Linked DNA regions of Homo sapiens: regions 2, 3, 4 and 5 are each linked to region 1. The links are contacts of gene promoters, found by promoter capture Hi-C in human tissues and cell types (Jung and others, 2019). All regions are on one chromosome and are shown on one strand. Each heading gives the region's core, a stretch centred on a gene start or on the middle of the fragment in contact. The rest is flanking DNA. Distances are from core to core; before and after follow the strand shown.

The links. The method cuts DNA at HindIII sites, captures the fragments that hold promoters and counts their contacts. A contact is called where the count stands out against the background at its distance.
Region 2: a contact is called between a fragment that was not itself captured here and the fragment with the promoter of RASGRF2 in region 1, in 2 of the 25 tissues and cell types used here (dorsolateral prefrontal cortex and hippocampus).
Region 3: a fragment that was not itself captured here is called in contact with the fragment with the promoter of RASGRF2 in region 1 in 2 of the 25 tissues and cell types used here (aorta and dorsolateral prefrontal cortex).
Region 4: a contact is called between a fragment that was not itself captured here and the fragment with the promoter of RASGRF2 in region 1, in 1 of the 25 tissues and cell types used here (hippocampus).
Region 5: a contact is called between a fragment that was not itself captured here and the fragment with the promoter of RASGRF2 in region 1, in 3 of the 25 tissues and cell types used here (heart left ventricle, hippocampus and thymus).

The regions. Positions count from the first base shown.
Region 1 is chr5:80,957,501-80,963,801 of GRCh38, reverse strand. It overlaps RASGRF2 (Ras protein specific guanine nucleotide releasing factor 2), which reads right to left and starts at 3,439. Exons shown (of 27, transcript NM_006909.3): 1 at 2,776-3,439. The coding sequence starts at 3,063. RASGRF2-AS1 (RASGRF2 antisense RNA 1) reads left to right here and starts at 2,895. Exons shown (of 4, transcript NR_105015.1): 1 at 2,895-3,021. RefSeq lists an enhancer at 2,615-3,336. The HindIII fragment of the contact is 17,436 bases long and covers 1-6,301 here.
Region 2 is chr5:81,186,133-81,192,433 of GRCh38, reverse strand. The region is part of intron 18 of RASGRF2 (Ras protein specific guanine nucleotide releasing factor 2); the gene reads right to left. Among named protein-coding and RNA genes, the nearest start is that of CKMT2, 44 kb to the left of the region's middle. RefSeq lists an enhancer at 1-353. The HindIII fragment of the contact is 4,810 bases long and covers 1,164-5,973 here.
Region 3 is chr5:81,140,187-81,146,487 of GRCh38, reverse strand. All of the region lies in intron 17 of RASGRF2 (Ras protein specific guanine nucleotide releasing factor 2), which reads right to left. Among named protein-coding and RNA genes, the nearest start is that of CKMT2, 90 kb to the left of the region's middle. The HindIII fragment of the contact is 3,186 bases long and covers 1,427-4,612 here.
Region 4 is chr5:81,119,806-81,126,106 of GRCh38, reverse strand. It overlaps RASGRF2 (Ras protein specific guanine nucleotide releasing factor 2), which reads right to left. Exons shown (of 27, transcript NM_006909.3): 16 at 2,340-2,465. Among named protein-coding and RNA genes, the nearest start is that of CKMT2, 110 kb to the left of the region's middle. The HindIII fragment of the contact is 6,979 bases long and covers 1-6,301 here.
Region 5 is chr5:80,825,331-80,831,631 of GRCh38, reverse strand. The region is part of intron 20 of MSH3 (mutS homolog 3); the gene reads right to left. Among named protein-coding and RNA genes, the nearest start is that of RASGRF2, 130 kb to the left of the region's middle. RefSeq lists a silencer at 5,545-5,745. The HindIII fragment of the contact is 5,695 bases long and covers 1,113-6,301 here.

The DNA.
Region 1 (6,301 bases), core at 2,190-4,689:
TCAAGGGGATTACAATAAATATGTCGCCCTCCAATGTGAGTAATAAGAATGTCTCTGCCTCAGGCAATGATGTTACTATAGGTTTGCACATCTGCTGACCTAACTAATTTATCAGAATGTCCACTTCAATCACCTGCTTGTCCTCGGCTTTTCAGATGCAGTATTTATTACAAACACTGGTAATCTCTGAATCTTGTGAAATGGTCTTTCACATTCTCCACACTGCAAAAAGCTCACCCTGTCTGTCATAACCTTAGAAATAGAAGATGCCATTATTGAAAGGTAATTGGAAACCAACTTAGCCAAATTCTTAATTTTTACATATTAGGAAACAGAGATTTCATTAACAGAAAAAAAGAGAAAAGATTAAGAGATGTGCTTAAAGAAATAACACGGAAACTTGGTGAAGAAAAATGACTCTGCCTCACTAAGTCCTGTTTCAAGCCCTAACCTTCAACTGTGTTGATAGTGTTGAGGGAGATATTGATATGGAAAGCTCCAGAAGCATATAAGGAGAAAGAAGCAAACCTTGGGATGTGCTCATCTCCTCACATCCTCCACAGATCCTTCGTGTCTCAGTGTCTGGATGATCTAAGCACCTCAGCAACATAAATTAGCTGAGAGGTAACCAACTGGATAAACTGTAGATTTAAGGTAGAATGTTTCTCCTTGTTTCTTATTTTCACAGTTTCTTCTTAATTATTCAAACACACCCAGTTGGCAGTGCCAGAGAAAAGCATCAGTGGGCTAAGCTAACCCAACTCACAGCAGCACATCTAATGCAAGACAAAATGTGGAAGGTTTCCCAGCCCAACTCCTAATCCATTCTGGAATGCTTGCTTCTCTACATCTCAGATTTATCTACAAACACCAAAGATTCTAATTTCTAACCTCTTGAAGATGAATAAAATGACTGAGAAATACTCATCATTTGCATGGTCATAAAAAGGGAAAACAATTTTTTCATTAGATGGCCTATTTAGGACAACCATTAGAAAGTGGCATGAAAGTCAAACTATTTGGAAGTTATGTTTCCTTATTAAAGTGCAAGAAAGAAAACAGTCTTGAAGATTACAGTCCAGATATTTTCCAAGTAGAAAAATGTTGGTTTCCATATAACATTAGCAAGTCAGAGAGCCATATGAATTGTAACAGGTAACAACTCCCCACCCCTAACTGAAAAAAAAAAAATCAAAAGTGGTTATCTTATATTAATATAAATATGAAGAAAACAAATAATTTGAGATTAAGTAAATGATATATATCCTGAGTAATTTAAAATACCCTATTCTACTTTAGACATAATAACATTTAGAAACCTATTCATTTTGGTTCCTGCGGGGCCTTGGAACACATACCTTAAAAAAAATCCCACCAATAGAATGTTACTTATATATATTCCTGAAAAAAAATGTTTCCTCAAAACTCTTCTCCCAATTTAAATTCTAAAATGCATGACTTGAAATTTATGTTTATATTTCTAGTATCTATATCTATAAAGTTGGAAATCAGTTTTTCAAATGACTCTGAACAAGCCCTCAGAAACTAAAGAGCATATTTAAACTTTCAGATTTATAAGTGTTATAACAAGTTTAATCACTTAAGTCTGTTAATGATTTATAGTGAAAACAACTCAAACTTCCGGTCGGTCTAGTTTTAACTCCTCTTAATTTTACACATTGTTTTATGAGCCCCAAAGGGTTAGGTAGGCATCTTACGGATCACTCCATTGCTAGCACCTCCCACAGCCTCTGTGGTGTGCGGTAGATGCTGTCTGATCTGAACTCACATGGAAAATTCAGCTGCGAATATTTTTACGCAACAGCAAAAACAATCAGCCTTTTTCATATCAAGGTGGGGATTGAGAAGCTAAATGAGAACATTAGGGGCATAAAATTAGTCTGCTTTAACTTTAATAACCAAACGGTGATTGGAAACATACAAACTTTGTGTTTGCAGGAATGAGGGGCTGGGATCACTAAGACTTAAAGGGTTTTTCTCCCCCACCCCGCGACCATGAGCACACAGCAAAACTAATAAAATTATGACCCAGAATTAAAAGGTCGCATTCATTTTCAAAGCATTCATTTAAAAGTACAGAAGCGTTCTTTAAAAATGCCCACATTTTTAAACATAGCAAGAATGTGGCTACCAAATATTAATCCTGAGGAATATGAATACACATTTACCTTCATAATTACACCCAGCAGGTCAAATGTTAGCAAGGCCAACTGACCGAAATCACAAAGACTGATTGAAAATGACCAACAGAAAGTGTCTGTCCGGCTTGGGAGCCCCGCTTGTTCCCAGCCCAACCAGTGGTCAAACATCTGCAGGCAAAGAAATCTACACGCGCCAGCCGGGTATGGCAGAAATCAAACTTTTCCAAATAAGTTAGTTCCGTCTTGCCAATCTACACCCAACAGGTGTCAATACATGTCACCAGACAAAAATCTGGCGAGCCAGGTCTAGAGAAGCAATAGATGGTTGGCAGAGAAGCTGAAACGACTCGACCTCTACCAGGGTAATGAAAGCAAGTCGGGCCACTATTCTGACTGATCACTTGGCAGTGGGGTGGAGGGGTATGGAGATGGGAGAATCCCTGGATGAAGATCGGAAGGAGCGTGGAGATGTCCCGCCACTGGTGACGCGGGGGGATTTCGGAGCATAGTCCCCGCACTCTTTCACGACCCCCGACCCCTGATCCCCGGATTAGGACGGCAAGGGAGTGCGGCGATCAAGGCTGGGAGACCGCGGAGAGAAGGCGCGCGGTACCTGCTTGTCCAGCGCGTCTCGGACGCCTCCCTGCCCGGCGCCGGCCCTGGGTGGCGCGGGCGTTCGTTCGCAGCTGCAGCCCTCCAGGAGGTACATGCCCGCCGGGCGGCAGCTCTGCTCGCCCTCGAAGTAGAAGAGCACATTCTGGTAGAGGGCGAACCACTTCTCGTGCCAGCGGCTCGCCTCGGCCGTCTTCTTACTCAGGAAGCCGCGCTTGGTGCCCTCCTTGCGCGCCAGAAAGGCCAGGTACAGGGCGTGCCCCTCGTTGTAGCGCACGCTCTTCTGCATGGTGCGGGTGCGGAGGGCTCACGGGTGGCCGCCGGTCTCACCCCTGCCTCGCGGCCATGGCCCAGCTGGCTCCCTCGAGGGCGCGACCGCTCAGGTCCCGGCCGGCGAAGGGCGCCCCCTTTCCCCACGCCGCGCGCAGGGCACCCCGCCCGCTTTCGGGAGGCCGCGGCGCGCGGTGGCAGGGGCGCGGGCTGGGGCCGAGGCACGCTCTCCGCCCTAACCACCACCCTCCCGGCCGAGCCCCCGGAGCCCCCCAAGCCCCCAACGCCCGCGTGGAGCGCGGCCCCGCGAGGGCGCCCGAGCCGGCCGCCGCTTCGCCCAAAGTTGCGGGAGCCGAGCCCCCGCGGCGGGCTGGGGCGGCAGCCGGGGAAGGACTGTCCTCGGGCAACGCGCTCCGGGAGACAGAAGGTAAAACGTCACGTGGGAGCTCAGCTGTAATCGGCTTGGAGACCGATTTAAAGGGCAAAGTCGGCGCGGCGCCGGCGGTGGCGCAGCCCGCTTGCCCCGGCTCGCGTCCCTCCCTCGCCCGCCCCGGCCCGGGCCGCTGCCTCTGCTCGGGCGCCCGCCGGGATGGGGCGGATCAGGGAGGTGGAGGCGCCCGGCCGCACCACACACCCGCTCACACGCGCTCGCACACTCGCGCACAACGCGCGCACACACACACGCACACCCACACACACGCAGACCAGTACATTCACCCAGATCCACAATGCACACACTCAGACGCACAAAAATACACTCACAAATGCACACAAACACAATGCGCGCACATATGCACAAAAACACACGCGCACACACTCATGACACACAAATACACATTCTCACAACGCTCACACTCAACACACAGTCACAACGCACAAATGCATATAGACAAATACACCCACAATGTGCGTTCCCGCGCACAAAAATAAAACCCACATTCAGATACACACTTAAGGAGCTACACACATGCACGCAGTGATATGCTCACTTACACACACATTCACACACAACCCACACATTCACTCAAACCCACATTCAAACATACATTCATACACACATTACACTCATACAGTCACACAAACAGCACACATATACTCACACGTTCACAATCATACAGACTCATAAGCAGATAATCAAACACACACACAGATGAACACACATGTACATTCACAAATTCATCCAAAAATACACACAAAGCACTCACACACGTATTCGCACGAATCCACACACTTTCACAAACCCACTCACACATACACACACACTCACATGCCACATCCATAAGTACGTTCCCATGGCAGTAGGTAGAGTCACAGAGTGGCTTTGCATAGCCCGCATCCTTGGCTTTTCTGCTTGTACCTGCATTGTAGTATTTAAAACTGCCGGTAAAGGTTAAGGAGAGTGGCCCAAGTGTTCCCGGAAAGGCATCAGATGCCGAAGTTCTTTCGGAATGCCTGTTATTTCACAGTGGTAAGATGCTAAATTTTAAGTGCCGAGTTTTCAACCTGGAAAAAAATACCCAAATAAGGGACACTTTGCTGCCCAGGGCAGAATCCAACCCCAAAGGCCAGCTGTCACAGGCTCATCGTTTGTAGGACTGGATTCATTTGATTAACAAATCTGACAGGTACAACCAGAAAACCAAGAGCCACCCCCCCGCCCCAACCCCATGCTGTAAAAATGTAAGTGGAAAAGAAATAATGTAGCCAGCAGCTGTGAGAGAAAGCCAGTGAAACCCCCGGGGAGGGCCTATATTTGATTCTGCTATACACATTTTTTATTTTCCCCAGTCATTTATCACTAAAACGGAGTGCCATCATAAAATGTTTATTGTTAAAAGTAAATAATAATGCTTTTCTGGGTGATGAGTCTACGACAATACACCTGTCTTGTACTGCCAGTTGTGTGTTCATGAATTGGTAGCCCCAGGGGTTCTGCCTGTTTCATAAGTGCTGTTTCTGCAGAATATTTTAACTCTGCCTCACTGAGCAGCTGAGTGGGGTTTTTTTTTCCTTTTACCTTTTTAAAAAATTTTCACTTTTAACAAGTATATAGTAGGGAAATTGCCATTTTGAAATTACAGCGTGAGAACAGTGGTCATTTCTCTTTACGTTTTTAAAAATATCTAAAGGACAGTGCTGTGCTAAATTGGGTTTAACCCAGCTGGAAGTTTGCATTGTTCTTCAGAGAAGACACAAGTACAGAGACAGTAAGTAAATGCAGGCAACATTTTGGAGCCAGATTCTAGATGCAGAGGAGCTGGTGATTGCCTCAGGAGGCCTTTTATTTCTTTCTCTGTGGTCCAATCCCAGCTGTGAGAACCGTAAGTGAGTAGACACCTGTGTGGTTGATAAGCTCCATTTTTTTAGTAGAAACCAGTAAGAGTGTGAAATCAGCACAAAAACTATTTTGCCATGAGTAGTCAAACCTTCTAACGCACTTGAGTTTTTTCAGATGTGAAAGATTCTCTTCTTCAATAAGCAATGTCTCAGTTACCATCTCTGTCTCCTTAAATGTGCTTTTCATTTGAACCACATGAAATATTCACAACCTCTTGTCTGACATCACTTCCTACCACGGAAGGTTATGTGGCCCTTATATGCCACCCCATCTGCTCTGCCCCTGGACAATGAGAGAAAGGAGTGCTTGTTTCCTGCAAAATTTGGCTGGTGATTACCGTGGGTTTTGATTATGGAAATTCACTGCAAGAACCATTTATTGATCACTAGTTTATGTCCTCAACACTATATTTAGGTGATGTAGAGCATATAGAGAAAAAGCATTGCCTGTGTTCCTGGTGTGCTCAGTGTAAGAGGAAGAGAATTTCTTTCTTTCTTCTTTTCTTTCCCTTCCTCCCTCCCTCTCTCTCTCTCTCTCTCTCTCTCTCTCTCTCTCTGTCTCTTTCTCTCTCTCTTTCTTTCTTTTTTTCTTTAGAGAGAGGTTCTTCCTCTGTTGCCCAGGCTGAAGTCATAGCTCACTGCAGCCTCAAACTCCTGGGCTCCAGCAATCCTCCTGCCTCAGCCTCCAGCGTAGCTAAGACTATGGGTGTGCACTACCACACCTGGTTAGGTTTTGTTTACTTTTTGTAGAGACAGAGGTCTCACCATGTTACCCAGGCTGGTCTCAAACTCCTGGTCTCAAGTAACCCTCCTGCCTTGGCCTCCCAAAGTCCTGGGATTGTAAGTACGACACCACCCAGCCAGGAAGAAGATTAATGTTTAGGTGCTTCTTCTCACCTGTCTGTTTCTCAAGTGCCGAG
Region 2 (6,301 bases), core at 2,319-4,818, 230 kb before region 1:
AAAGCCTCATTGTTCACACGATGAAAAAGAACATTCTAATAGAAAAACATAAGGAAGGGCAATAAGTTTGGAATTAAACCCTACATAGCAATACGACAGTACTTCTAAACTTTCCAATACACGTTCAATACTTACTAGTCATTAACTACTCAGTAGGTTCTTGAATCTTCAAAGAGGAACAGAATGTAGAGAAAATATATGCCTGACAATCATCTGGGGACTTATGTTTCAGGTAGTAAAACCCACAGACAATTAAACCCCAAATCTGGTAAGCTCTGTGCCTTGCTCCTGGTCAGCCCTCAAACGTTTGTAGAATGAATGCATAAAAGTCCATGGGGGAGAATACTTGACTTTGAGACAAGTGGTAATAAGCTACCTAAGTTTTAAACTGGTGGTTTGGGAAATTAGTTTAGCAGATGTGAAGTGGGAGGCTACGGGGAGAAGGCACAGCGAAAATGTGGAAGATATGTTAGAACAAAAATAACTGGGAAGCGGCAAATGGCAATGAATGACACTAATTCAGTGAGAAGGAAAAAACCCATCCAGAAAACTATTTATTTGATCATTTGCTGACAAATGACTCTGCATTTGAATGACTGCTAAAATTCAGCCCCTAGTTCTGAACAGCTGTGCATACAGGAATCTTTAAATACTGCCCCACAACCCCGGAATCAGATCGCTTCCAAGCTTACATCTTTACGCCCCAAAAGGGAATCAGTCAGTTTAAAAAGCATTTACCAGAAAAAAAGAGAATTTTTTTTTCAGATGCTGTGTTTTCCATTAGGTAGGTGGTAAATTTATATGGATTGTCATTTTCAAGAAAATGACAAAGACCAGAGGGAAAATGAAAAGTCTGGAAGGGCATCCTTTTATTGCCAATATTTAAAACTGTATTTAACTTTCTTAAGTAATGCCCCCTGCCAACAAAATTATCTTTGAGTTTAACTCTAATATAACTAGAAAGTAGTCATTAGTTATACTTTTCTTTTTACCCTGATCCATAGGAGGGAAAAAGACTGACAAAGAAAGCTGGTGGGTGCATCCTTCCTTCCCCAAGGAGAAGATGCACTTAGAGTTACAGGAAGTAGCATCTTTGACATTCACCCAAGGAGAGACTTTATGCAAAGAGATTGGGAGCTATAAGTTAATGACATCTGAGAGCAGAGTGGAGAGGAGAGGAACACAAAGAGAAAGGCAACAAGCAAGGCAGAGCCGTGGGGCCTTGAGAACCAGTTGATAACACAAATGTTAAGTCAGCTCTTGGCATTCTGAGGCAGCTCTGAAGTGATGGAGAGCACTGGTCCAGGCCTGGTCGGATCAAACAAGGACCAGGTGATGTCAGGATCATTGTTCCCCATGCTGAGGGTTGCATGCCGCAGTCTCCAGAAATGCTTCCAAGGTCCAAGAGTGATTACAAGAGTGGGGAGACAAATTAGGAAAAATAAGGGCTCTCCATGGCACTTGCATCAGAAAACTCTTACAACAGAGATAAGAAGCTATCGAAGTACATAAAATTCCATCAACGAAATCCATCCACAAAAGGTTAAGGAATCCCACTAGTTCAATGGGGAAAATGTTTCTGTTTCGGCAGCTAATGAAAACGGAAAATCAGTGCCATTGAAGGCACACTTCCTAAAAGCTTAAATCTAGCTTATGCTAGCTTAATAAATCCTGCTGTAAATGTCTCACTGTAAGGAGAGTTTAAAGGATAACAATAGGGATGTATAAAAATAAGAAAAAACTTTGGTAAATAGTTCAAGGAACTAGGATTTTCTTACTTGGTTGGTTGTTTGCCTGGACCAGAGAAAAAGAATAAAAATCTATCTTTGGAATTAAAAAAAAGAAAAGAAAATCCATACTTATCAGATAATAGTTTCTTACATTTCATATTTTCCAGAGAGATATGACAAATAATTCATTTGTGCATTATAACTTCACACAGATAATTTTGCCAATTTTACAAATGTGGAAACTAGCAAGCTAACAATGGAATCCAAACTAGTGTGCAAGTTTCCAGGTTTCTCTCCTCATCTGAGACCTTTTTGACCCAGGAACCTCTGAAGAACTGAAGTGAAATGTGACGCCTAAGGCATCTGTTCTGAGGGGAGAAGGAGAGGGCAGCGGTCAGTAAAAGATTACAGCAGGACCCAGCACTGCCGTAAAGATAAGGGTCAGCCTATGTGTCCAGGAAATCAGAAGGGGCCAAAAGGAACTGAAGTTGCTGGCCTATTTAAATTAAACGGAGCATTCTCTATTTCATTTGGGCGGCTGTCATGGGGAATCTGTTTGTGAACAAACACTGGTGTGTGCCTGGTGGATGTTTGGGATCTCTTAGCTGAGATACGCAGAGGCTGACAGTGTCGACAGCTAGAAGTGAATGGGTGCTGATAAATAATAAAAGGGTGAGACTGACATAAAAGTGTGTCGGGCGTAGTGGCTCACGCCTGTAATCCCAGCACTTTGGAAAGTTGAGGCGGGTGGATCACAAGGTCAGGAGTTCGAGACCAGCCTCGTCAATATGGTGAAACCCCGTTTCCACTAAAAATACAAAAAAATTAGCTTGGTGTGGTGGCGCATGCCTGTAATCCCAGCTACTTGGGAGGCTGAGGCAGGAGAATTGCTTGAACCTGGGAGGTGTAGGTTGCAGTGAGCCAAGATTGCACCACTGAACTCCAGCATGGAGACAGAGCGAGACTCTGTCTCTGAAAAAAAAAAAAAAAAAGTATATAGGCCATCGATTATCCTCTGACATGGTGATTGTATAAAATTATCTGTGGCTAGGCACAGTGGCTCATGCCCGTAATCCCAGCACTTTGGGAGGCGGAGGTGGAAGGATCACTTGAGGCAAGGGGTAGGTCAAGGCTATAGTGAGCTACGATCGCACCACTGCCCCCCAGCCTGGGTGACAGAACAAGACCCCATCTCTTAAAAAAAAAAAAAAGAAACACACACAGAAACAACAAAAAAAACATAAAACACCATTTGCAAGGCTGAAGCAGCAGACAACTCATTAGTCATTTAAAAACATCTCATAGCTGCTAGCATTTCACATTGAGACCAAATTTTATCTTCTTATTCCTGGTATCCCCATCAGTCCTACCAGCTGGGGACATGCCCAGGAGCCTCGTGGCACTCTGTGGTGCCTGAGCAGTGGGCAGCATCTCACCCACTTGTCAAGGTGGGATATCTGGGGTCTTGAGGCTTCAAGAACAGCGGGGGTTTCCTGGCCCTTCACCGCGGGCAGCTCTGACTGTACTTCCTGCAGGCAGGTGGCCTGGGGAGGCTGGCCGGGGCGTCTGCTGTCACCATCTCAGCCTGGGAGGTGCAGTGGTTGTCAGCAGGGGCACAGCACTCCTCCCTGCACCAGCCTTTAGCAAGTACAAATCCTTTGAGCAACACAAAATAGACTCAGGGTCAAAAGTAACTTTCCTAAGGAAAGATTGAGAAACAGGGAAAGCATTGGCAGTGTTGACATGTGCTATTCTCACTGTCCTGAGTCAGAAGCGGGTTTTTATGTTTCACATTTTGAGCGGTCTGCATCTCAACAGTTGGCCTGCAAGATGGAGAGGCTGCAAGATTGGGGGTTCCCGGCAAAAACTGTGCAGCCAGACGGCGGGGACTGAAACCTGCTGCTGCCATTTGCTATCGGTGGAACCTCAGGGAAATGGTTCAGTCTGAGCTTCCATTTCCCCATCTGTAAAGCAGTGGTAATAACAACATCGACCTCCTCTCCCTCAAACGAGTGGAGTCACAGTAAGTGACTTAATATTTGAAAACAACTTGAAACAGTGTCTGATATAAAGTAAGTGATACAGTATTTTTTTTTAAATTGGGTTTCTGTCATTCAGAATCCATCTTCACAGAGGAAGCTACCTACCTTCATTCTAAGAATCAGGTTCTCAAGTCACCCATAAAAGACCATGTGCCCCATATCATAACTAAACCGATACCAAACTTCAGGCTGCTCCTAGATGACTTCTATGCAATTCAATGGTTCGTCCTCCTTGCTCAGAGTCCTAGTGACACACTTCTGCACTGGAAGTCTCATCCAGCCATGGTGAAGGCTTAGGGAAAGGGGCTTTTAAAGTCTTGAACTTCTTCAGGAAGTGGGGACAAAAGCCCTATTCACAGCAGAGAGGCATCTTTCTCCTATAAAGATCTCAAAGGTCAGGCCCCCATATGCTGAGATTGCCTTGCAAATGGAAGAGAAGATCCGCTCTTTAAGGGGCAGAGACCAGGCCAGGAGTGTGACAGAAAAGTACCCTGTGGCCAACTGACACGAGCCCGGATGGATGAGGAGGGCAGGGCTGGAAGCAGGCCAGGAGCCGTCAGGAGAGGTGACAGCAGCAGGCCAGGAACGTCAGGAGAGGTGACAGCAGCTGCCTGCTCAATAGCTGGTTGTTTCTTTCACTTTTCATTCTCCTGCCCACACCGAAAATTCTGTGCTGTGTTTGTCCTAGCCCAACCTCCATTTCAGATTTGGAACAATGAACAAGAACAATGAACAAACCTGAACTCAGTGCTCTAATTCAACACTGAATTTTGTGTTTCACTAGGCAATGCCAAATAGTCAACAAAAAAATTTAGAAGCCGCCCCTGTCATCTGTCAAAATAAGAAACGGAAGAGATGAACTATGTCCACTCACATTCTGGGAAAATCTGATCCCTGAGACCTTGAGCACACTAAGTAGAGGCCATCACACCGTCACACACTTTTCCACCTTAATAAGTCAGAGGGCATGTCCCCACTTTACCTCAGATCTGGGACTGCAGCCCCAAAACCTAAATTCTGTGGAGCAGACGGATGCTCATTGGTTGGTTCCTTTACTGGGAAAGAGCCATGGTCTTCTCTGAGATAACAGTGACTCTGAGGTTACATAAAGGTTTTGTTTTCCTCTCCACAAACCTAATATAGGTGTGCCCCCTTCAGCAGGCTTATTGCTGGAGCCATCGTGGAGACCACCCGGTCGGGTTCTTGTTTCAGAGGAATGAGGCACTGTGGGAGACTGGAAGGAATTTTGACAGCTGGGTCTGTTTCCCTATGGTACCTTTGAGTGGTCTAGAACTGTGCTGTTTATACTGTAACCATTAGTCACGTGGGACTATTAACATTTAATTCCATTCAATAACATTAAAACTCCAGCTTTTTAGCCATGCTAGCTACATTCCAAGTGATCAATTAGCTGCATGTGGCTAGAGGCTACTGTACTGGGCACCATGACATAGAACATTTCCACCATCACAGCAAGTTTACCTGGGCGATGCTGACTAAACCCCTTTGAGACTTAGGTGGTTCACTGGTCAAACGGGGGTAACAGCATTTGGCCTGCTTGAAGGTCTGGGTTTGGACCAGATGCCGCTTTCACAAGGTTATCTCTATCAAGAGCAGCATCTGCAGTGCTTTGAGCCTCCATCTGTAATGGCTACTCTGTATGTTTTAACTCACATAATCCTCACCCTCCCACAGAGGAAAAAGTGGCATTAATCCCCATTTTTACAGATGAAGAAATGGAGGCCTGGAGGAGCTAAATAGTTTGCTCAGACACAGCCAGTAAATGCCAGAGCAGGGATTTCCATCAAGATCACCCTAACTTCACACCTCCAACAGGATTCGAAGTACCCCCAGCTCTGAGATCTCTGCTACAAAGACACATGAGGACTGAATTTAACTCCTACTGTGATTTTTGGAGACGTAAAAATTCTCACCTCAGCTGCTATGAGTGACTAGAGTGTGGTTGTGAGATCCGCTAATTCCTGTCTTCTACCTCAGACTATATTTATTTGTTAATTGTGTTATGACAGTGTTAGGGAACATATATTTTAATGAAAGAGTGAAAAGGACTCTGTTTTGTGTGTGTGCGCGTGTGTGTGTCTGTGTTTATAGGATAGAGTATATATAAAACCCTCTTATAATGGGAAAAGGGTGCATATATGTAAAACATACCATAAGCAATGCTAAATGTAAAAGAACAAATTGAGAGAAACGAATATCATTTGACAGATAAAGGATTTTGTCCTGAATATATAAAAAGCTCATAATGTCAATGGGAACAATACTAAAACTAATAGAGCATGGGGTAACAGGAAGAGGGGCAGAGACTTGGAGGCCCCTCTCAGGTGCTGGAAATGTCCCAGATCTTGACCTGGGTGGCAGTTACATGGGCGTATACAGAGGCAGAAAGTCACTGACCTACACACTGAAGTTTATTGCCCTTTATATGCGGTATGTGATATTTCAATAAAAATGCCAAAAAGCATGTTAACTGAAATGTAAACTCAAGTTATTCATTATTAGCTAAAA
Region 3 (6,301 bases), core at 1,770-4,269, 180 kb before region 1:
TGTCTTATACTTCTAAATACCTTATAATTCCAAGAGACCAGCATGTCTGTAAGGGACCTCAAACTGGGCCAGTCTAACTCCCTGGGCAACTGAGCTGCTAGGGTACATAGAATGTGTCACATAGGCCAGCTTCAATTTCATCTTCAAATGATAATTGCAATTTAAAATTCAGCCTTACACACAGACAATAGCTACACAGGGGAGGCTCCTCTCAGTTTGCAGAATAGACTGGAACCATTAAGTTCCTTCTTATTGCTAAGCAACAGTTGTGTTAAAATCAAACTGCTCTAGGCTCTCAAACAGCAGAGAAAAATGAGTCTATTCAATTCAGAGCACTTCAGGTGATGAGAGAAGAGAAAGACTGTTCGGGAACCTTGAAATACAAGGCAGATTTAAGCTACATGTTAATTTCAAATATACTCCCTCAATTTCAAAACATTTGGTTGAGTATAAGCCCAGGGTGCTGTGTTCCACAGGGGATGCCCAGAAATGCTTCTCTTTCAAAAAATGAAAATATGCCCCTTACGTTTAACGTGATTATGAATAATTTGGTCAAAGTTTACTGGCTACTGTGATACCACCTGTATGAGTTATCTGTATCTACCTAACAAATCACCCTAAAATTTGAGACTTCAAACAACAAACACTTATTATCTCACAGTTTGTTTAAGACAAGAATTCGGAGGCTTAGCTGGGTGGATCGGGCTCAGGGCCATGCGGCTGGAGTCCAGGTGTCCACTAGGGCTGCAGTCATCTGAAGGCTGTGCTGGGGCTACGGGGTCTGCTTCCCAGCTCACTCACATGGCTGTTGGCAGAAGACCTAGTTCCTAGTTTTTTCCCCTGTGCGACTCTCCTCATGACTTGGTAGCTGGTTCTCCCCACAGCAAGTGATCCAAGAGAGAGATTGACCAAGATGAAAGGTGCTAAGCTTTTGATGACCTAGGTGCCAAAGTCATACACGATCACTTCCGCTTTATTTGTTAGAAGCAAGTTACTAAGTCCAGCCCACACTAAAGAGAAGGGAAATTTAGCACCATTTCTTGAACGGAGAAGTAGAAAAGAATTTGTGGTATATTTTTAAAACCACCAGACCATGCAAGAGAAAGGTTCATGTCCTTCCTAAACAAAATGGCAGCACTACAGAAACCCAAATAACAAGGTTCCAGCTATGCCTTATATGTATAAGGCAGAGGTTAGGGTGGTGACAGGTTAGACTGTGGGCCCCTTCTTCACTTATTTTTTTTATTTTTCATTTTTTGAGACAGAGTTTCACTCTTGTTGCCCAGGCTGGAGTGCAATGGCATGATCTAGGCTTACTGCAACCTCCACCTCCCAGGTTCAAGCAATTCTCCTAAGTAGCTGGGATTACAGATGTATGCCACCACACCCAGCTAATTTTCTATTTTTAGTAGAGACTGGGTTTCTCCATGTTGGTCAAGCTGGTCTGGAATTCCTGACCTCAGGTGATCCTCCCGCTGCCTCAGCCTCCCAAAGTGCTGGGATTACAGGCGTGAGCCACTGAGTCTGGCATTCTTCCCTTATTTTTTAAACATCAAGTGTGCATTGGGCCAAGGCAATAAAGTACTGATGAAATTCAAGCAGAGTAGGGTGGTGGTTAGAAGAGCCAGATGACAGGATTCAAATCTGCTACTTACTCCCTGTGTGACCTAAGTGACCTTAGGTGATTTACTTAACTCTCTGTATCCTCTGCTGGAACCTGAGTATAGTAATATTAACTACTTCACAATAAGTTAACATATGTAAAACTTGGACCATTGCTCAGTATATTGTATGCCTATTGAAGTGTATAACTCTAAATCACTGTTGTCATTGCTATGTTGATAATAAGTGCAACCACTCAATTTATATACAGAAATGCCCATCTGGGCAGCATAGGAGAATGGTTTGCAAGATGTAGGTGAAGCTTTGGGAGCTTCACCTCTATAAAAATGACCCATAACTGCTATGTATTTACAATCAATTAAAAAGGCTAACTACATGTTATCAAGTTATCGCCTTATGTCTTCCCAGCACTTGTGAAGCCATAGGCTGTAAGTGCCGGCAAGGGCACAACCTGTACTAATCACAGCTGGTGCATAAATAAGGAACACACACAGGACCTACAGTCTAAGGGGATATTCTCCTGGCAGATTGAAAGCCCCTTCCTCCCTTACCATAGACCTTAGAAGTTTTAATGTTTGGTTTACTTGTGCTGACTTCCACCACCAAGCATATAAAAGCAGTATGTTTCCATAGATTACTTTGACTACCACATTTAATCTTTGACATAACAGTTTGAAAATTTTTTTAACTAAAAGCTTGTCACATCCTTTTAATGTATGAGGCTGATGAAATTTTACATAATCACAACATTATCATTGGTTATTTCTCCCAAAAAAGTTCATTGAGAAATTCCACTTTTCATTGTATATTTTTGAGGCTGTCTACTATTTCTAACTTTCCTGCATAATAATTTTCAGCTTTGCATAATACTGACATGACCACCACTGTTTATTTGCCCTATTGCCTTTATTATAAAGATTCAAATAACCAAAAAGTCCAGGAAACAGAATTTTTTTAGTCTTTTTTTTTTTTTTTCTGAGACATTTTCACTCTGTCGCCCAGGCTGGAATACAGTGGCACTATCTCAGCTCATTGCAACCTCTGCCTCCCAGGTTCAAGCAATTCTCCTGCCTCAGCCTCCTGAGTAGCTAGGATTACAGGTGTGCACCACCACGTCCGGCTAATTTTTGTATTTTTAGTAGAGATGGGATTTCACCATGTTGGCCAGGCTGGTCTCAAACTCCTGACTTCATGATCCGCCCGCCTCGGCCTCCCAAAGTGCTGGGATTATAGGCGTGCACCACCGTGCCTGCCCTTTTTAATCTTATATGATGATAATTTTTGTTTTTATGCTTACTCTGAATCATCATTAGATAGTGAGAGTCTTTCTGACTCATCAGAGATTATTTTCAGCATTCCTGCATTGTTAAAAGTATTTCATTGTATGTTATTATTAAAAAATTTGTATTTTTTTTCAGGCCAGGTGTGTTGGCTCATACCTGTAATCCCAGCACTTTGGGAGGCCAAGGTGGGTGGATCACCTGAGGTCAGGAGCTCAAGACCAGCCTGGCCAACATGGTGTAACCCCATCTCTACTAAAAATATAAAAATTAGCCAGGCGTGGTAGCATGCGCCTGTAATCCCAGCTACTTGGGAGGCTGAGTCAGGAGAATCGCCTGACTCAGGAGGCAGAGGCTGCAGTGAGTGGAGATTGCGCCACTGCACTCTAGCCTGTGCGACAGAGTGAGACTCCATCTCAAAAAAATAAAAATAAAAAATAAAAAATGTGTATTTTCTTCAAAGAATCAGAAGTCCTATGTTCAGATAGCTTTTGTCTTTCTAATTGGTCTTTCCCAGCCTAAGATTTTTTCGTCTTTAAAATAAAGGGATACTACGAATATATTTTTCACCACAGAAAACTTCTACAGAACCAAGATATAATCCTAGAAATGCACTGGAGGCCACATCCTGAGAGCAATTTACTACAGGACCCAGTTGGATGCATTAAGAGACTGCTGGACTCCTGACAAGACTGCAAGAGGCAGGGCCAGTTTCTTGGTGTACAGCCTGTGTCACACACCGCCCATGCTTAGAAGGTCTCATGCTTGGTTAGATGCCCTGCATCTTAATTGAAATTCTTAATAATTCTTAATAAGAATTCTTGAAATTCTTAATAATTTTTTCAACAGGGACACTTGCATTTTCATTTCACACTGGGTGCTGCAAAGCACATAGCCTGTCCTAGCAAGAGGATGTATCTCCATGAAATAGGAGCAGAATTCCAAAAGGTGAGAACCTAGCAAGGTAAAAAGACAGCATGATACAGAAAAAGAGGAGATGAATAAGAAATAAGGCAAGGGTGGGCTACACCAAAATGAAAAGATGGTGAGGGCCCCATATAAGAAACATTGCATGCAGCCAACATTTTGACCTTAGACTTCTGAATGTCATTGCTAAAACAGGTTACACAGGCAGCCTGCTTCCCATCATCCTCTGACTAACCAGAAGATAGAGAATTGCATTCAGAAAGTGAGCATAGTTCTTTTTAGGGCTGGCAGATAGCAGAGCAGTGATGTTTAGCCTTCTGTTTTCACACCATTCACACGTGCAGCACATTGCCATCAATAACATCTCTCTTCTGGACTGCTTGCCTCTGGGAGGCCACTCAGAATCCCCACCGGGACAGGAATATTTTGAGGAAGTCCCCGGCTGTTCTTATTCTACCCCATCTACACTCCATTGGAAATCAATGCAGTACAACACCTACATGATATTAAGCTTCTGATTTTGAAACAGAAAATTGATATGTAATTCCTGCCCAAATTTTACATTTTAGCTTGTAATCTAGACCCTGGAAAAAGCCCAGATTCTGTGCCTTTCTTATAAGTTTATGCATGCTGTTAAGCTATTTAAACAGTGCTGAGTGTTCTCACAAATCCTGAGACTGTAGACAGCAGAGTATATATGTGACATCAACTTAATTCACAGTAATCAATATCTCACTGCAAATTTAATCCAATTCTCAATACAGAAATACATGCTTCCTCTAACCAGATCATACCATTGTACTAAGGCCCTGATTTCCACAATGCTGTGAATGAAATCACAGATCCTTCAATGCTAACTGCTGGTCAACTAAGAACCCATCCACAGACTACTAATTTCCCCCAGGCTCATCTCTCTGGAGTCCCCAAACTGCTGTGTCTATCACTTAGGGGAATGCTAGGTGGATACAGAGGTGGGAAAAAGACGGAAAGAAATGGACGTGCTGCAGAGAAAGGCAGAAGCAAGAGTTAATAACAAAATTAAGCAATTCAAGCTTCCCAAGCTCTTGCTGTTTTTGAAGTTAATATGGATTAGAGGCTATATCAGGGCAAAGAAAGCAGCAGTTTAGCAGTGGAGAGATCTGAGGCTCATTCTCAATAACTATGAGAACCTGGGCAAGACCCTTCACCACTCCAGATGCCACACTTGCTTCAGAATCTATAACGTGAGATGAAGAGAGACGGTCCCCACTGTGCCCCTTCCATAGTGAGGGGATGACATAGTGAGGGAGGCTCAGACCTTTGAGATAAGATTACCCTCTGAAAGCAAATGTGGTCAAGCACAGTGCCCGAGAAGAGATCAACTCTCTGTAAAATCACCCAGTAAAAGGAATAGAAGATACATGGGAGTGGCACTGAAGAGATTCAGGAGTTTACTGCTAATATTTAGGAGTGTCTCTGGAAATCTTAGCTGTATCAACCTACAACTCCAGCTGGAAGTGATTACAGTAAATCTGAGGTCACACACTGGTGGCTCACAGCCAAATGTGGCCCATGAAAGTATTGTGTTTGGCCTGGACAGTATTTTTAAAGAGTGTGAATTCACTTCCAACATTTCAAAACAGAAAATTTCACATAAATATCAAGATTTCTGGCTAGAAAAAAAAAAACCAGAGAAAACACATCTGACAGCCCTAGTCCTGCAGCCCCTCATGGCAACAATCTGCAGGGGCTGGGCAGTGGCTGTGTCCTTCAAACATGGCAGCACCTCTCCATCCCTACTTAGGTTACTTGCCTGGCCCTGACATGGATGAAACAGTAATGTAATCAAGCAGCAATTAAGCCATGTGAGGCATAATCAACTACATTGTACCTTTGCTGAGAAGAGACAGTAATAGAAGAGAGCAGCCTGCAGGGAGCCTGGGAAGGGAAAGTGCAAAGAAAAGGAACTCGGCAGTGCAGCACCATCAGGGAAGAAGGTGGACAGGCCAGCTGGAACAGGATTTGGGTCTGCTTGGAAAGCACAGCAAAGATATCTCTGTGATCTAGCTTGCTGCGTGGCATGTTTCCAGGAAGAGAATGCAAAGCCCACCTGCCATGAGCATTCTAGCTGCTTCGCAGGCTCAGGAGTGTACTCACACCAGTGAAAGCTGCAGCTTTGCAGTTCCACAATTCTAATTCCAAGCAAAATGTGAGTGAGTGTGCGTGTGTGCATGTGTGTGTCTGTGTGTGTGTGTGTGTGTGTGTGTTTAAAAATAGGACTTGGGACCATTGTTAAAGTACTGGTCTTTAGTGAAATAATGTTTAAATATTTTTAATATATTTTGGAAAAAAACAATAGAAAATATGTCCCAAACTAGGATACCCTCCAGTAGGAAAAAACAAAAAGGTGTCCTGAATCTGTTGAAGAATGGTGTGAAAGAACAAGTAGATGAAAAGAAGTATCCTTGGATACTTTTATTCGGGAATTACCC
Region 4 (6,301 bases), core at 1,690-4,189, 160 kb before region 1:
TTTTATTAGCTTGGCCCTAATGTTTCACAATCATGCCTAAAATAAATACACACGTTAAGAGGGGAAGCAAAGAGCTGCTTAATGTGCCCAAGCACAAACGCATAAAACAGCTCTACCTTCTCTTTCCACAACAGACTTATTGCATTTTGGAACAAGGTGGCAAGTAGACAGATGCACAGGCAAAATTTCAGCTAGATAGAAATATGTGATGCTGTCCTTGTTCAGTTCCTCCATATTATCACAGGTTTCAGCCTCCTTCCCATGTTTCTATGTCTCTATGATTTAGTTATATCAGGGAAGAAACAAAGGATTTGGCTTAGTTAATCCACAAACAAGATGAGGATTTCCAAATAATCCTTATGTGAATTAAAAATTTTATATGTGAATATAAACATATGAAAAGAGAATATAAAGTAGAGTTCTAATAATTGTAACGCCTTGAACAGCATTTAACTCTTGCCTTGGTAGAGCCTTACTTCCATAGATTTTGGTCCCAAACTCTTCCAGGTTACAATGAAGTCAAAGGGATCTGTCCTATGTGGCAATGGTCAAGGAAGTTGCCAAGACCTGGACTGACCAAAGCTCTAAGAAGAATAGAGAGATCTGGCTAATTCCATAGTAGTACTATGACAAGCCAGGAAAGTCTAATTTGTCACCTTCATTTACCAGAAACACCCAAATGGCAGGATAACCCATAACTGACTTGGAGCCTTAAAGCCCCAAGGGCTAATATCCACAAAGGCAGACATCTAACAACAGCCAGACTGAGACCTTCCTAGTTGCTCTCAGAGCTCATGGCAATGACAACAGCTTCTACCAAGCTGCTAAGGCCACCGATAACCATTTGGAGCCATATACTTTACCTTTTGCTAAAATGCCCTATTTGAAGCATGCCTATGAGAGTCAAAAATGCCTTTATAGGCTGGGCGCAGTGGCTTATTCCTGTAATCTCAACACTTTGAGAGGCTGAGGAGGGTGAATCACCTGAGGTCAGGAGTTTGAGACCAGCCTTGCCGACAAAGTGAAAACCCGTCTCTACTAAAAATATAAAAACTGCTGGGCGTGGTGGCCCACGGCTGTAATCCTGGCTACTCGGGAGGCTGAGGCAGGAGAATCACTTGAACCTGGGAGGTGGAGGTTGCACTGAGCCGAGATTGCACCACTGTACTCCAGCCTGGGTAACAGAGTGAGACTCTGTCTCCAAACCAAAAAAAAAAGCCTTTTCATTTGGGTTACTTGGGGTGAATCCGGTTTCATAATTGTGTAATTTTCTGTTCTGACTTGAAATAATTGGCTTAAGAAGAGAAAAGCAAACATTTCAAAACAACTGTTATTTGGATATATTTATTTGAGCAGTGGGGAAAATGGGAGATAATTAAAATATTTCTACCTTTTGTTCTGATTAGTTTTTTTTCTCCAATTAGAGGACATTTATTATGTTCCCAAACAAATTATGGAGTAATGCTTTACAATTTTCTTAACTATATATCAAAATACATATGCCAGTTTCTGCCACTAGCAATAATGATGACTGGGGTCCCATGTACCTGGACCTTATTTTAGATGAAATAATATTATTAATAGGGTCTCCCCAGATTGTGATGCCCAGAGGAGTCCACTTATACAGACTACATTGGGACTCATGGTAATATATCAGAGACTGGGAACATTTTGGTAAACCCAGCACTGAGATTCTTCAGCTAGCTAACATCTAAAGAAAGAGCCTTTTGATTCACGTTACTCCTCACAAAATGCAATGCAATGATGGAACTAAACAAATGTTGGTTAGACTAATGACATCTTCTCTAATCATTTATTTTTCCACCACTTGGTCCTACAGTAACATTACAGTCATCCCTTGTTTCCTGTAGGGTATTGGTTTTAGGATCTCCCTCAGGTACCAAAATCCACAGATGCTTAAGTCCCTGATATAAAATCGTGTAGTATTTGAATATAATCTATGCATATTTTCCTGTATATTTTAAACCACCTGTAGATTATTTATAATAACTAACACAATGGAAATGCTATGTAAATAGCTGTCATACTATAATGTTTAGGGAATAATGACAAGAAAAAAAGTATGTACATGGTCAGTACAGAAGCTTTATTCTTCTGCCAAATATTTTTGATGGGTGATTGGTTGAATCCACAGATATGAAACCCATGGATGTGGAACCCACAGATACAAAGGGCCGACTGTATTTGCTTCCAATTAATTTTCAATAAGTGAGACTAAAAAAATTATTTTGGCAGTGAAACAATTAGGCAAAGGAAAGGTTCAGAAGCTAGAAATCATTTTTCACGTTTCTATTTCTGAGTCCCTCTTGAGCTCTTACCTCCAGGCTGTCGATAGCGGAGGTGCCGAGGAGTTGAGGGGGATCTGCAAGGTGAAAGTTCTGTGGTGTCCGCTGCAGGGGAGCTTTCCACTCCTGCTCGGTCCGCTGGTGCAGACTCTAGGACTGCTGCTTGAAAACATCATGAATTTTAACAACCAGGCCATGAATTCAAGAGCTTCTTGTCAGTATCATGCATGGAAACAAAAGTTCATTACAGATAATAAGCATTTCATTAAAGGGCTTTAATATGAAATCAAGTCAAGTACTAATGACACTAAATCTAAAAAAGGATCTTCTCTAACCCTGTCTTGATGACCCTGTTGGGCCTGGCTGACCCTAGCTGACCCTGGCCAGCCCCTTCTGTCAAATGCAGCAGCAGATGTTAAAGTAAACGGGGGTATGTGGTGGATCCCCTGCCCTTCCAAATGTTTTTGCTTTCTCTGAGTGGGGAAAGATAACTTTGTCAGGTCAAAAATCAGATTGGGATTACAAATCGGAACTTCACCAGTTCTTTGCCTGTGTTGCCCCCTAAACCAACCAAAGTTTGAATCTCTATAATGTGGCCCTCACCAGGGATCTCTGGGTCTCCCAGAGATCTAAAGCTATGTTGTCCAAAATGACAGCACTACCCAAACGTGGCTATGTAAATTTACATTAACTAAAGTTAAATTATTATTTTGGCTTCCCACTTGCACTACATTGAGTGCTCAGCAGCCACATGTGGCTAGTGGCTATGGTATTGAACAGCCCAGATATACAGTATTTCTATCCTCCCAGAAAATTCTACTGGGTATCTCTGAGCTAGAGCTACAGATCAGCAGGAAACACGTGAAAATCTTTTAAATGAACCATTGGGAGGGTTTAAGGTCATTTGAGCTTCTTTGCTGCAGCTAACATCCCAAGAATAACACACACATCATTTTAGGGTCACCCTTAGGCCATTACTAATGATGTTTCTATGCCCCTCCCACTGATTTATTAAGCAGGTAAGACTACAACTTTGTGTATGTTCTTTCAGAGAAAAATACCACAAAAATGTAATACATTTCCAACGATTCTTCCATTCTTCTTGGGCTTTTCATTAATTCCCATTGATAACAGCTTAGTGTCACCTCCACTAATTGTACATTAATCCTGTCAGCAGAACTACTTTGCTTTGCCATTCCATTCAAGATTTCACTCAACAAACTTTCAAAAATCTCTAATGACTTCATCTAAGGCCATTTTTATACTTGCATGTGACTTATCCGCTTAGAAATATGGCCACAATTTTGCTTTTTTGAAACACAAAGGGGCCAGGAAAAGGAAATGGTTAGAATCTTTCTCTGAATGACATAATTACAGTAAAGCTGGCAACGATGCAAGATGCAGACAAAAAAAATCAGTGCTTAGCTGTCGGTTTTATTATTTTCTAAATAACTGCCCCAAAATTCAGTAATGGAAGGCATCTGCTCTGTAAGAACGAGCAGAATATCAAATACATGTCCTTGGTCTGATTCAACCATTCAGTCATCTCAGGAAAATGAGAAAATCATTAGACAGCAATTACATTGAACCCAGGAAATTTCCCAATGAGAAAAGCTGGATGGACCCTGACTGTTCTGAAAGAACAGGAAAGCAAAGAAGAATCCTGTAAGCTAACAGGCACCTACAGAGAGAAGAAACCATGCCAGCACTGGGGGCTGAGGGGAGAATTCCTTCTGGCATATTCACTTTTGATCAGGCTCCTTGCAAACAGCTTTGCCTGCAGGACGAGTGGGCAGATGTGGCTCAAAACAAATGCTAAAATCGGGAGCACTTTCAGCCCACAGGCAGGCAATTTTCAAACTAAGAACACAGAAACAGACACTAGTGCTGTGGGCTGTGCAGCAACACAGGTGGCTAAGTTGCACGGCCATGGTCTAAGTGAACACTGAGGGAGTAATGGGGTCTGAATACAGTGAGCGACCCTTTGGCTTGCCTTTCTTGCCTGCTGTTGGTTTGGTTTTTGTTGAGAACCCATCACTGGGTGGAATCTGGATATCTGAGTCTGGCTGATATTTGTGTTTTGTAGAAGCACCTGGGGTTGAAGAAGATAGAAACTGACTGGTAATGAGAAGAGAGGGTATTAGTGAATGTTGGATGAGTCTGGAACAGACGTGAGGAATGAGTTGGAGGGAAATTAAATTGAATTATTTTTTCCCTAAGTTCATTGCCTCACTCATTTTAAAGGATATTTCCTATTTCGCTTCTTTCTCCTCACATTGTTTGACGTTCTCCTGCCAGAAAATTTTGCAAGGCTGGCATTATCATTGCAATGACAATAAAAATGGACAAAGGTCACTAGCACTTTTCAAAAAACATGCCCTGAAATGAATAGCTGGATGGCAGTGAGGGAGACGTATGGCATCAATAGGGACCTAATTGGCAAAACTGATATTATACAATGAGGTGGTGTGGGGTTGTATTCTTAAGTGAAAAGCAGAAAATGTGTAAGTTCTTGGCACGGGATTCATATTCAAGTTTGCCAACTGTTTTAAGTGTTAACATTATGTGATACACGCAAACATCTTTCAAATTAAAGATGGATCAATGTCTCCTTTTTCTTTGTCAACTCAAATTTTTAAGACTAGACAGCAGGGTTCACACAGCAGCACTTTTGGCTCTTACAGACATCACACACACACACACACAACTTTCAGACTCATGCTGAAGTAGTGTTCATCCATGACTTTCCTAAAACTATTCACGACCAGTATTGCCCATACACCAATACAAAAAAACAAAAACAAAAACAAAAAACCCTACAACTGAGTCTGTAATTTGTTTCACTTATTCAGAAAAATGCCAAAGAGCTACCTCAACCCGAGCCTTAATTCTAAACTTTCTACCCAGAGTGTTTCCTTCGCAGGGATCCACAGGATAAATTGTTCTCAGTCTCAAGAACTAGCAAGCATGTGCCCGCACAACCAATCTATTCCTAGCCTTCAATATGAATCACAATAATTGATTATATTCCTGTCTTTACTGTGCCAGCAGAGGAGCTTGGAACCAAAGTCAGGGGACTCTAGGAATTGCAGAAGACCACACAGTATTCATTTGTTCAGTAACCATACACTTGGCCACACACAACTTATTCCTTTTCTCCCATTGTCTGATTTCCTTACCTATTTTATTTTATTTTTGTCTTTGTTTTTTGTATTTTTGAGACAGGGTCTTACTCTGTGACCCAGGCTGGAATGCAGTGGTATGATCAGAGCTCACTGCGTCCTTGACCTCTTAGGCTCAAGTGATCCTCCCGCTTCAGCCTCCTGAGTAACTGGGACCACAGGTGCACACAGCCACATCTGGCTATTTTTTTTATTTTTATTTTTAGTAGAGACAAGGTCTCACTATGTTGCCCAGGCTGGTCTCGAATTCCTAGGCTCCAGCGATCCTTCCACCTCGGCCTCCCAAAGTGCTGGCATTACAGGCATGAGCCACCATGTCCAGCTACCTATTTCATTTTAATGTAGTTGTACCCTGTATCTCTCTGAATGACCACCTTAAATATTTTTAAGTATAAGATGGGAAATAAATGCATTAAAAAGAAATTAGAGGACAGCTATAGAAAGGGAAAAGAAATAAAGATGCAAAGAAGTGGCTTAATGGAAGGATTAAGGGAGGGATCAGGGTAAAATGAGAGCTAAGGGGGATGCATTAGGTGGTGAATGTGACTAAGAAGCCTGGGGAGCAGAGGAGCTGACAGCTCTGGAGTAAAGGTTGGCTCTACGGGCTTCACCAAGTGCCATGGGCCCCTCCTAGATACATACAATCTTGGACTTTCTCCATTACCCAGAGTGGAAAGAGCTCAGCATTTAACTATTTTAGAGTACTGGAACTCTAAAATGATATTTCTAACCTATGAACCATCTGGATAAATTAACTGAAAAAAATATAACACTAAATCACTTGTTTTGGGGAAATCCAGTGAGAAGCAGAGG
Region 5 (6,301 bases), core at 2,711-5,210, 130 kb after region 1:
TTTAAGAAGGATGGTATAAGGAAGAAAAACACCCCAAAAAACTAAAGTCCAAGTAGAGGAAAGACTGTAAGAGAATACCAATTACTAAAAGATATGTAGGCACCATATGGTATTTAAAAGGCATAAAAAGCGTGAATTAGTAAATCTGTCTTGTATTTAATTAAACATAAACAATAACTCAGAAATGGAATGAAATTACAAATGATTTACCACTACATATGTGCACTTTAAAAAAGCCTGGAAAGCCATCTACCTAAACAACAATGATCTCCAGGTGGTGGAATTACAAGTGATTAAAAAATTTTGAGTTTAAAATTTTGCATAATGAACATGCATTACTTGTGTAATTAGAAAAACAAATGTTATTTTTAAAAATCACAAATGATACATTTAAGAATTATATCGTATCATTCTGTTAAGACAAGGCAGAAATAACTAGCCTTCTTCTAGCAATATGAAAAACATTTATTAGCATAAGTAAAATTACAGACAATCCCTGACTTATTATTTTAAAATTTTATAACGAGCTTACTGGAGTATTAAGTGCATTTTTGATTTATGATGTTTCTGACTTATGATGGGTTTATCAGGGCATAGTCCCATTTTAACTTGAGAAGCATGTGTATTATAATAGAAAAAAAAGTTTCTCTCATATAATCCTTCCTTCTAATGATTGCAATAAGATCACACTACAGTATTTAAAGTTTATTTATAAAAGTTATAATACTAAACTGCACATATAATCAAGCAAAACCCACTGTAGCAATCTTTCAATTTCCGTGGAAACACTGATGAGAATCAAGAGAACAATCCAGAAAAATTCTAAATTTCTACAGGCTCACATGACAGTGTTCCCTGGCCCTGTCTATAAAGCATGTGTAGGACACTTACGAAGGACACAGGTATTTTCCTTCAAAGAAAATCCACACTGTGCTGACTGGGCAACTCATCCTCTAACATAGCTAGTAGTCCACTTTGTGGGAAAGTCCCAAGAACTGCAAAGAAAAATAATTAACAGAGCAAATGATTTCACTCAATGTTAACTATAGCTAGGAAAACTACACATAATTAAGGTTGTCAAAGGAAGATTAATCTGTCATCATGGATAAAATTAATCAGATAAATCAATAAGATGAATACAGGGGAACCCAATATAACCAGAGGCTGCATCCTTATAAACTGCACACATTATAACCTCATGCAAAACAAAATCTCTCTCTGATCCTGTTTTTCTTCCTATAAAATGTTAGAAATTAAAATGCAAACAATGGCTCCTAAATTTGTGCATCAGAGTCACTTGTAGAGATTCTTAAAAATAAGAGTTCAAGGGCAAACCAGAAACAGGAAAGTAAATTAAATCTGAAGTAGGCAGAAGACAATAAATGATGAGATTACAGCAGAAATCAGTGAAATTGGAAATAGAAAATCAATAGAGAAAAATCAACAACACCAAAAGCTAATTCTTTGAAAAGATCAAGAAAATTAATAATTTCTAGCTTGGCTAAGAAAAAAAGAGAGAGGATACAAATTACTAATATTAAAAATAGAAGAGGAGACATCACCACAGATCTCATGGGCATTAAAAAGATAATAAAGGAATACTGTAAAGTGTTATGGCCATAAATTTCATATCCTAGATAAAACAGACTGATTCCTTGAAAGATACAATCTGTCAAAACTCCCACAAAAAGACAGGGACAATCTGAATAGGCCTGTATCTATTAAAGAAATTGAATCAATAAGTATTAACCTTCTAAAATAGAAAACACCAGGCACAAATGGCTTCACTGGTGAATTCTATCAAACATTTAAGGAAGAAATTAGACCAATTCTCTATAATCTGTTTCAGACAATAGAAGCAGAGGGAATACTTCCTGACACATTCTATAAGGCCAGCATTACCTTAATACCAAAACCGGACAAAGGCATTATAAGAAAACTACAGGCCAATATCTCTCATGAACATAGATGCAAAAATCCTCAATAAAATATTAGCAAAATGAATCCAACAATGTATAAAAAGAAAAACAGACCATAACTAAGTAGGACTCATCCTAAGTGTGCAAGACTGGGTGAACATTTGATCACCAGTTAACATAATCCATCACATCAACTGGCTAAAGAAGAAAAATCACATGATCATATCAACAGACGCATAGAAAGCATTTGATAAAATCCGACACCCATTCATGATAAAAACTCTCAGTAAATTAAGAATAGAGGAGAACTTCCTCAACTTGATAAGGAATATTCACAAAAAAACCTATAGCTAACATCATACTTAATGGTGAGAAACTTGAAGCTTTTCCAACTAGGATCAGCCAAAATAGGAAGCTGTCACCTCTTACCACTCCTTTTCAACACTGCAGTGGAAGTACTAGTTAATGCAATAAGACAGGAAAAGGAAATAAACAGTACTTTGGTTCAAATTTTGACCCTTCTGAAATTCAAGTTGAAACTTAATCTCCAATGTAACAGTACTAAGAGGTGGGGCATTTAAGAGGTGATTGGGTGATGAGGGCTCTGCCCTCATAAATGAATTAATCCATTCGTGGATTAATGCCAAGCAAAAATGTGGGGTCAGAGCCAGAGCCAGGACAGACAACCCCAAGTGGGGTAATGTCTAGTGGAGCAGAGAGAACAGAACCTCGCTGAGATCTCAGAACTGTAGAACTGCCAGCATTCAGCTCCAGCCTGGGAAAGCTGCAGGCACTTGACTGTTACTTGTGAGAACTGAAGCCTGGGAGAGCCCAGGAAAGCCTAGGTGGTGGGGCTGCCTGAGGCCCTGGGATCCAATCCTCACACTGGTGTATCTAGGAAGCAAGACATGGAACCAAGGAAGATTACTCTGGAGCCTCAAGGCTTAGTTTTTCCTTTGGGTGTTGGACTTATTTGGGACCTGTTACCCCTTTCTTCTTGCCTATCTCTCCCTTATGAAATGAGAATGTCTTACACCTGTCCCACCATTTATTTTGGAAGTAGGTAACACGTTCATTTCACAGGCTCACAGCTGTAAGAAATTTACCTCAAGATGAATTGTCCTTTGAGCATTACTCACATCTGATTCGATGAGACTCTAGACTTTGGGGCTATAAACATGGAATGAATGTATTTGTATATGAGAAGGACATAGAATTTGTGGGGGCCAGGGGCAGAATGCTGTGGTTTGAATGTTTGTCCCCTCTAAAACTCACATTGAAATTGAATTCCCAATGTAACAGTATTAAGTGGGGCCTTTAAGAGGTGACTGGGTCATCAGGGCTCTGCCCTTATGAATGGATTAATCCATTTGGGGATTAATGGATTAAGGGGTAATGAATCAATGGGTTATCATAGGAGTGGGTTACTTTCACTAGAGTGGGTCTGTTGTAAAAGCCAGTTTGGTTTTCTCTAGTAAGCCCCCTTGCCATGTGATGCCTTCTGCCATTTTATGAGGCAGTAAGAAGGCCCATACCAGATGTAGCCCCTTGACCTCGGACTTCCCAGTCTACAGAACTGTAATAAATTTACTTTGTTTATCAATTACCCAATGAGCCCTCATGTAAACTATGGACTTTGGGTGGTAATGATGTGCCAATGTAGGTTCATCAATTGTAAGAAAGGGAGTACTCTGGTGGGGGATGCTGAAAATGGGGGAGGCTGTGCAGGGGCAGTGGTAAGTGTAGATGGACACTCTCTATACCTTCCTCTCAGTTTTGGTGTAAGCCTAAAACTGCTCTGAAAAATTAAAGTCTTTTTTAAAAAAATAGTGTCTAAAGGCCTCCTTCATCATACCTACTACAACAGTATCTATCTCCAGGGGATCTTCAATCAGAAGATTTGCCTGGGATTTGCATTTAAAACCAAATCAAACCAAACCTTCAGGTGACTTTGAGGAAGCTAATTAAAGGAACAAGCCTTAAATTCATAAAATAATTTCCCATGAAAAAGATGAAATAAGATAACTAGTGTTTGCTAGACACAGTTAAAGAAAGCACAGAGATATTGATAAGATGACATTTTTAATGCCAATAAAATCATAACAACTTACTCATTTAGTGCTCACTTATCATGTGGATTTTAGTACTGGTATTTACAACTAATTAGAAGGTGTGGACTGATTCAAGATGTTTTCTTTCTGTCCATAAAGAATATATTTTGTATAGAGTACAAATACTCCACAGTCAGTGCTCAATATTTTCTGAATTACACTAAGTTGGGCAAACAAATAAGTTACTAAGTACTTGAATGTCTATTATCTTCCAATTCTCTTTCAAGAAAAACACACTCGTGCCACTCTGAGTACACAGAATTCCCTGAAGCTGGGTGTCAGAAGAGGGAGTTTGTGTAAGTAGCATGGCATGAAAATTGTTAGCTATGGGCCACATCGAGTAAATATCTCTTTTCATCAACGCTTAATCACCAACGTTTAATAGAAATAAATTATGCTGAGAGAAGAGGCCAATTGTTTTGCTTTTTTCAAACTGTTTTCTAATGAGACTTAATAATTCATTGCTTTTCTAAAACTTAATTACTGAGTCTAAAAGGCTAGATGAGATTTAAGTTTATATTCATCAAGATAATAAACAGATCTTATCTCAGTGATGCATTCAAGGATGTTAATGATCCTTGGAAATATGGGTCTAGAAATATTTCATCGATGAGTACACATATCATAATGCACAGATATATCCATTAGAAACAAATGTATGTGTTTGCCAAAACTCTACTTTTTAAAAAAATCTGCTTCTTATTCAGGAAAAGATTCATGTGAGGTTATAGTATTCAGATAAAAGATTCTGGAGGCCGGGCGCGGTGGCTCACACCTGTAATCCTAGCACTTCTGGAGGCCGAGGCAGGTGGATTACCTGAGGTTAGGAGTTCGAGACCAGCTTGCCCAATGTGGTGAAACTCCGTCTCTACTAAAAATACAAAAATTAGCTGGGCGTGGTGGCACATGCCTGTAATCCCAACTACTTGGGAGGCTGAGGCAGGAGAATCGCTTGAACCCAGGAGGTAGAGGTTGCAGTGAGCCAAGATTATGCCACTGCACTCCAGCCTGGGCAACAAGAGTAAAACTCCATCTCAAAAAAAAAAAAAAAAATTCCTAACCTCCTGTCTGTTTATAGCGTTTCATCCATTTACTTCTTCTTCTTGCACACTGTATAGCACATAGTGGGCACTCAATGAATATTTATGGAATCCACAGATTTAAACCTAGTGTTCTAAATGGCCAATTGATAATAGAATCTATTTACAGATACAGCTTGGAGCTAAATCTTATGCAAATATCTCATTCTGCTAGATTTTAATATTTTTTCCATTGAGTACAAAAAGCATTTGAAGTGATTTACAATAACATATTCTAATGAAACAATTACATGAAACTAAGATTACAAGCCATACAGTAGATTCTTACATTTAAGCTTAGCATGAGCTTTTAAAATGCTAATTCTTGTGTACCACCTTGGAGATTCCAATTAAAAAGATGTGTGAAAGGGCTTAGTAAGTAGCATTTTTAACTAGCACCGCCAAGATTCTGATGCAGCTGTTCTAAGAATGACACTAGAGAAATACTCCCATAAAAGAAGCGAAGGGGAAAACTAAGCCAAATTTGTTTCCACACCTGAGCCTTGAGTTTAGCTCTTGCTGTCTTGGCAGCCAAGACAAAAAGGAATTAAAGAGGAAGCAGCCACTGGCTGATAGCAGGAAGCCTGGCAGTTTGTCAGAAAAGGCCAATAAATTGCTTCAAATCTTTTTGTAAACAGGCACAGTATGCACATGGAGAGAAAAAATGTCCCTAGCATTAACAAAAAAATAATTTACCAGATGGCACTTCATGTGAAGGACATTAAGTAATAAAAATGAAAATGTTCTTATGAGCAATTTTGGAGAATATATAGAAATATCATCAAATGAACATTTCTTATTCTAATCTATTTTAAGCATGAGAACAAACTTTTAAACACTGGTGGTGGGATTCTAAGCTGGTACAGCCTCCTTGGAGATCATGAAAGACACATGTTCCTTACAATCCAACAACTCCACTCCTAGATTGAGAAAAACTCCCTTGTGTGCACTAGGAGTTGAGTATGAGACAAGTCACAAATATGACTGTTTATATTTGCAAAAAATTGGCATCATATCAAGAAAAATGAGGGAATAGTAATATATTCATAAAATAAACTATCATAATTAGGGAAAAATTAATGAACTCAAAGTATATGTACCCATATGAATTTTATAAATATATAACACTGAGGGGGGAAAAAGCCACTTACAGAAGAATATAGTGTGATACACTGTGTGTAAAGTTTAAAAG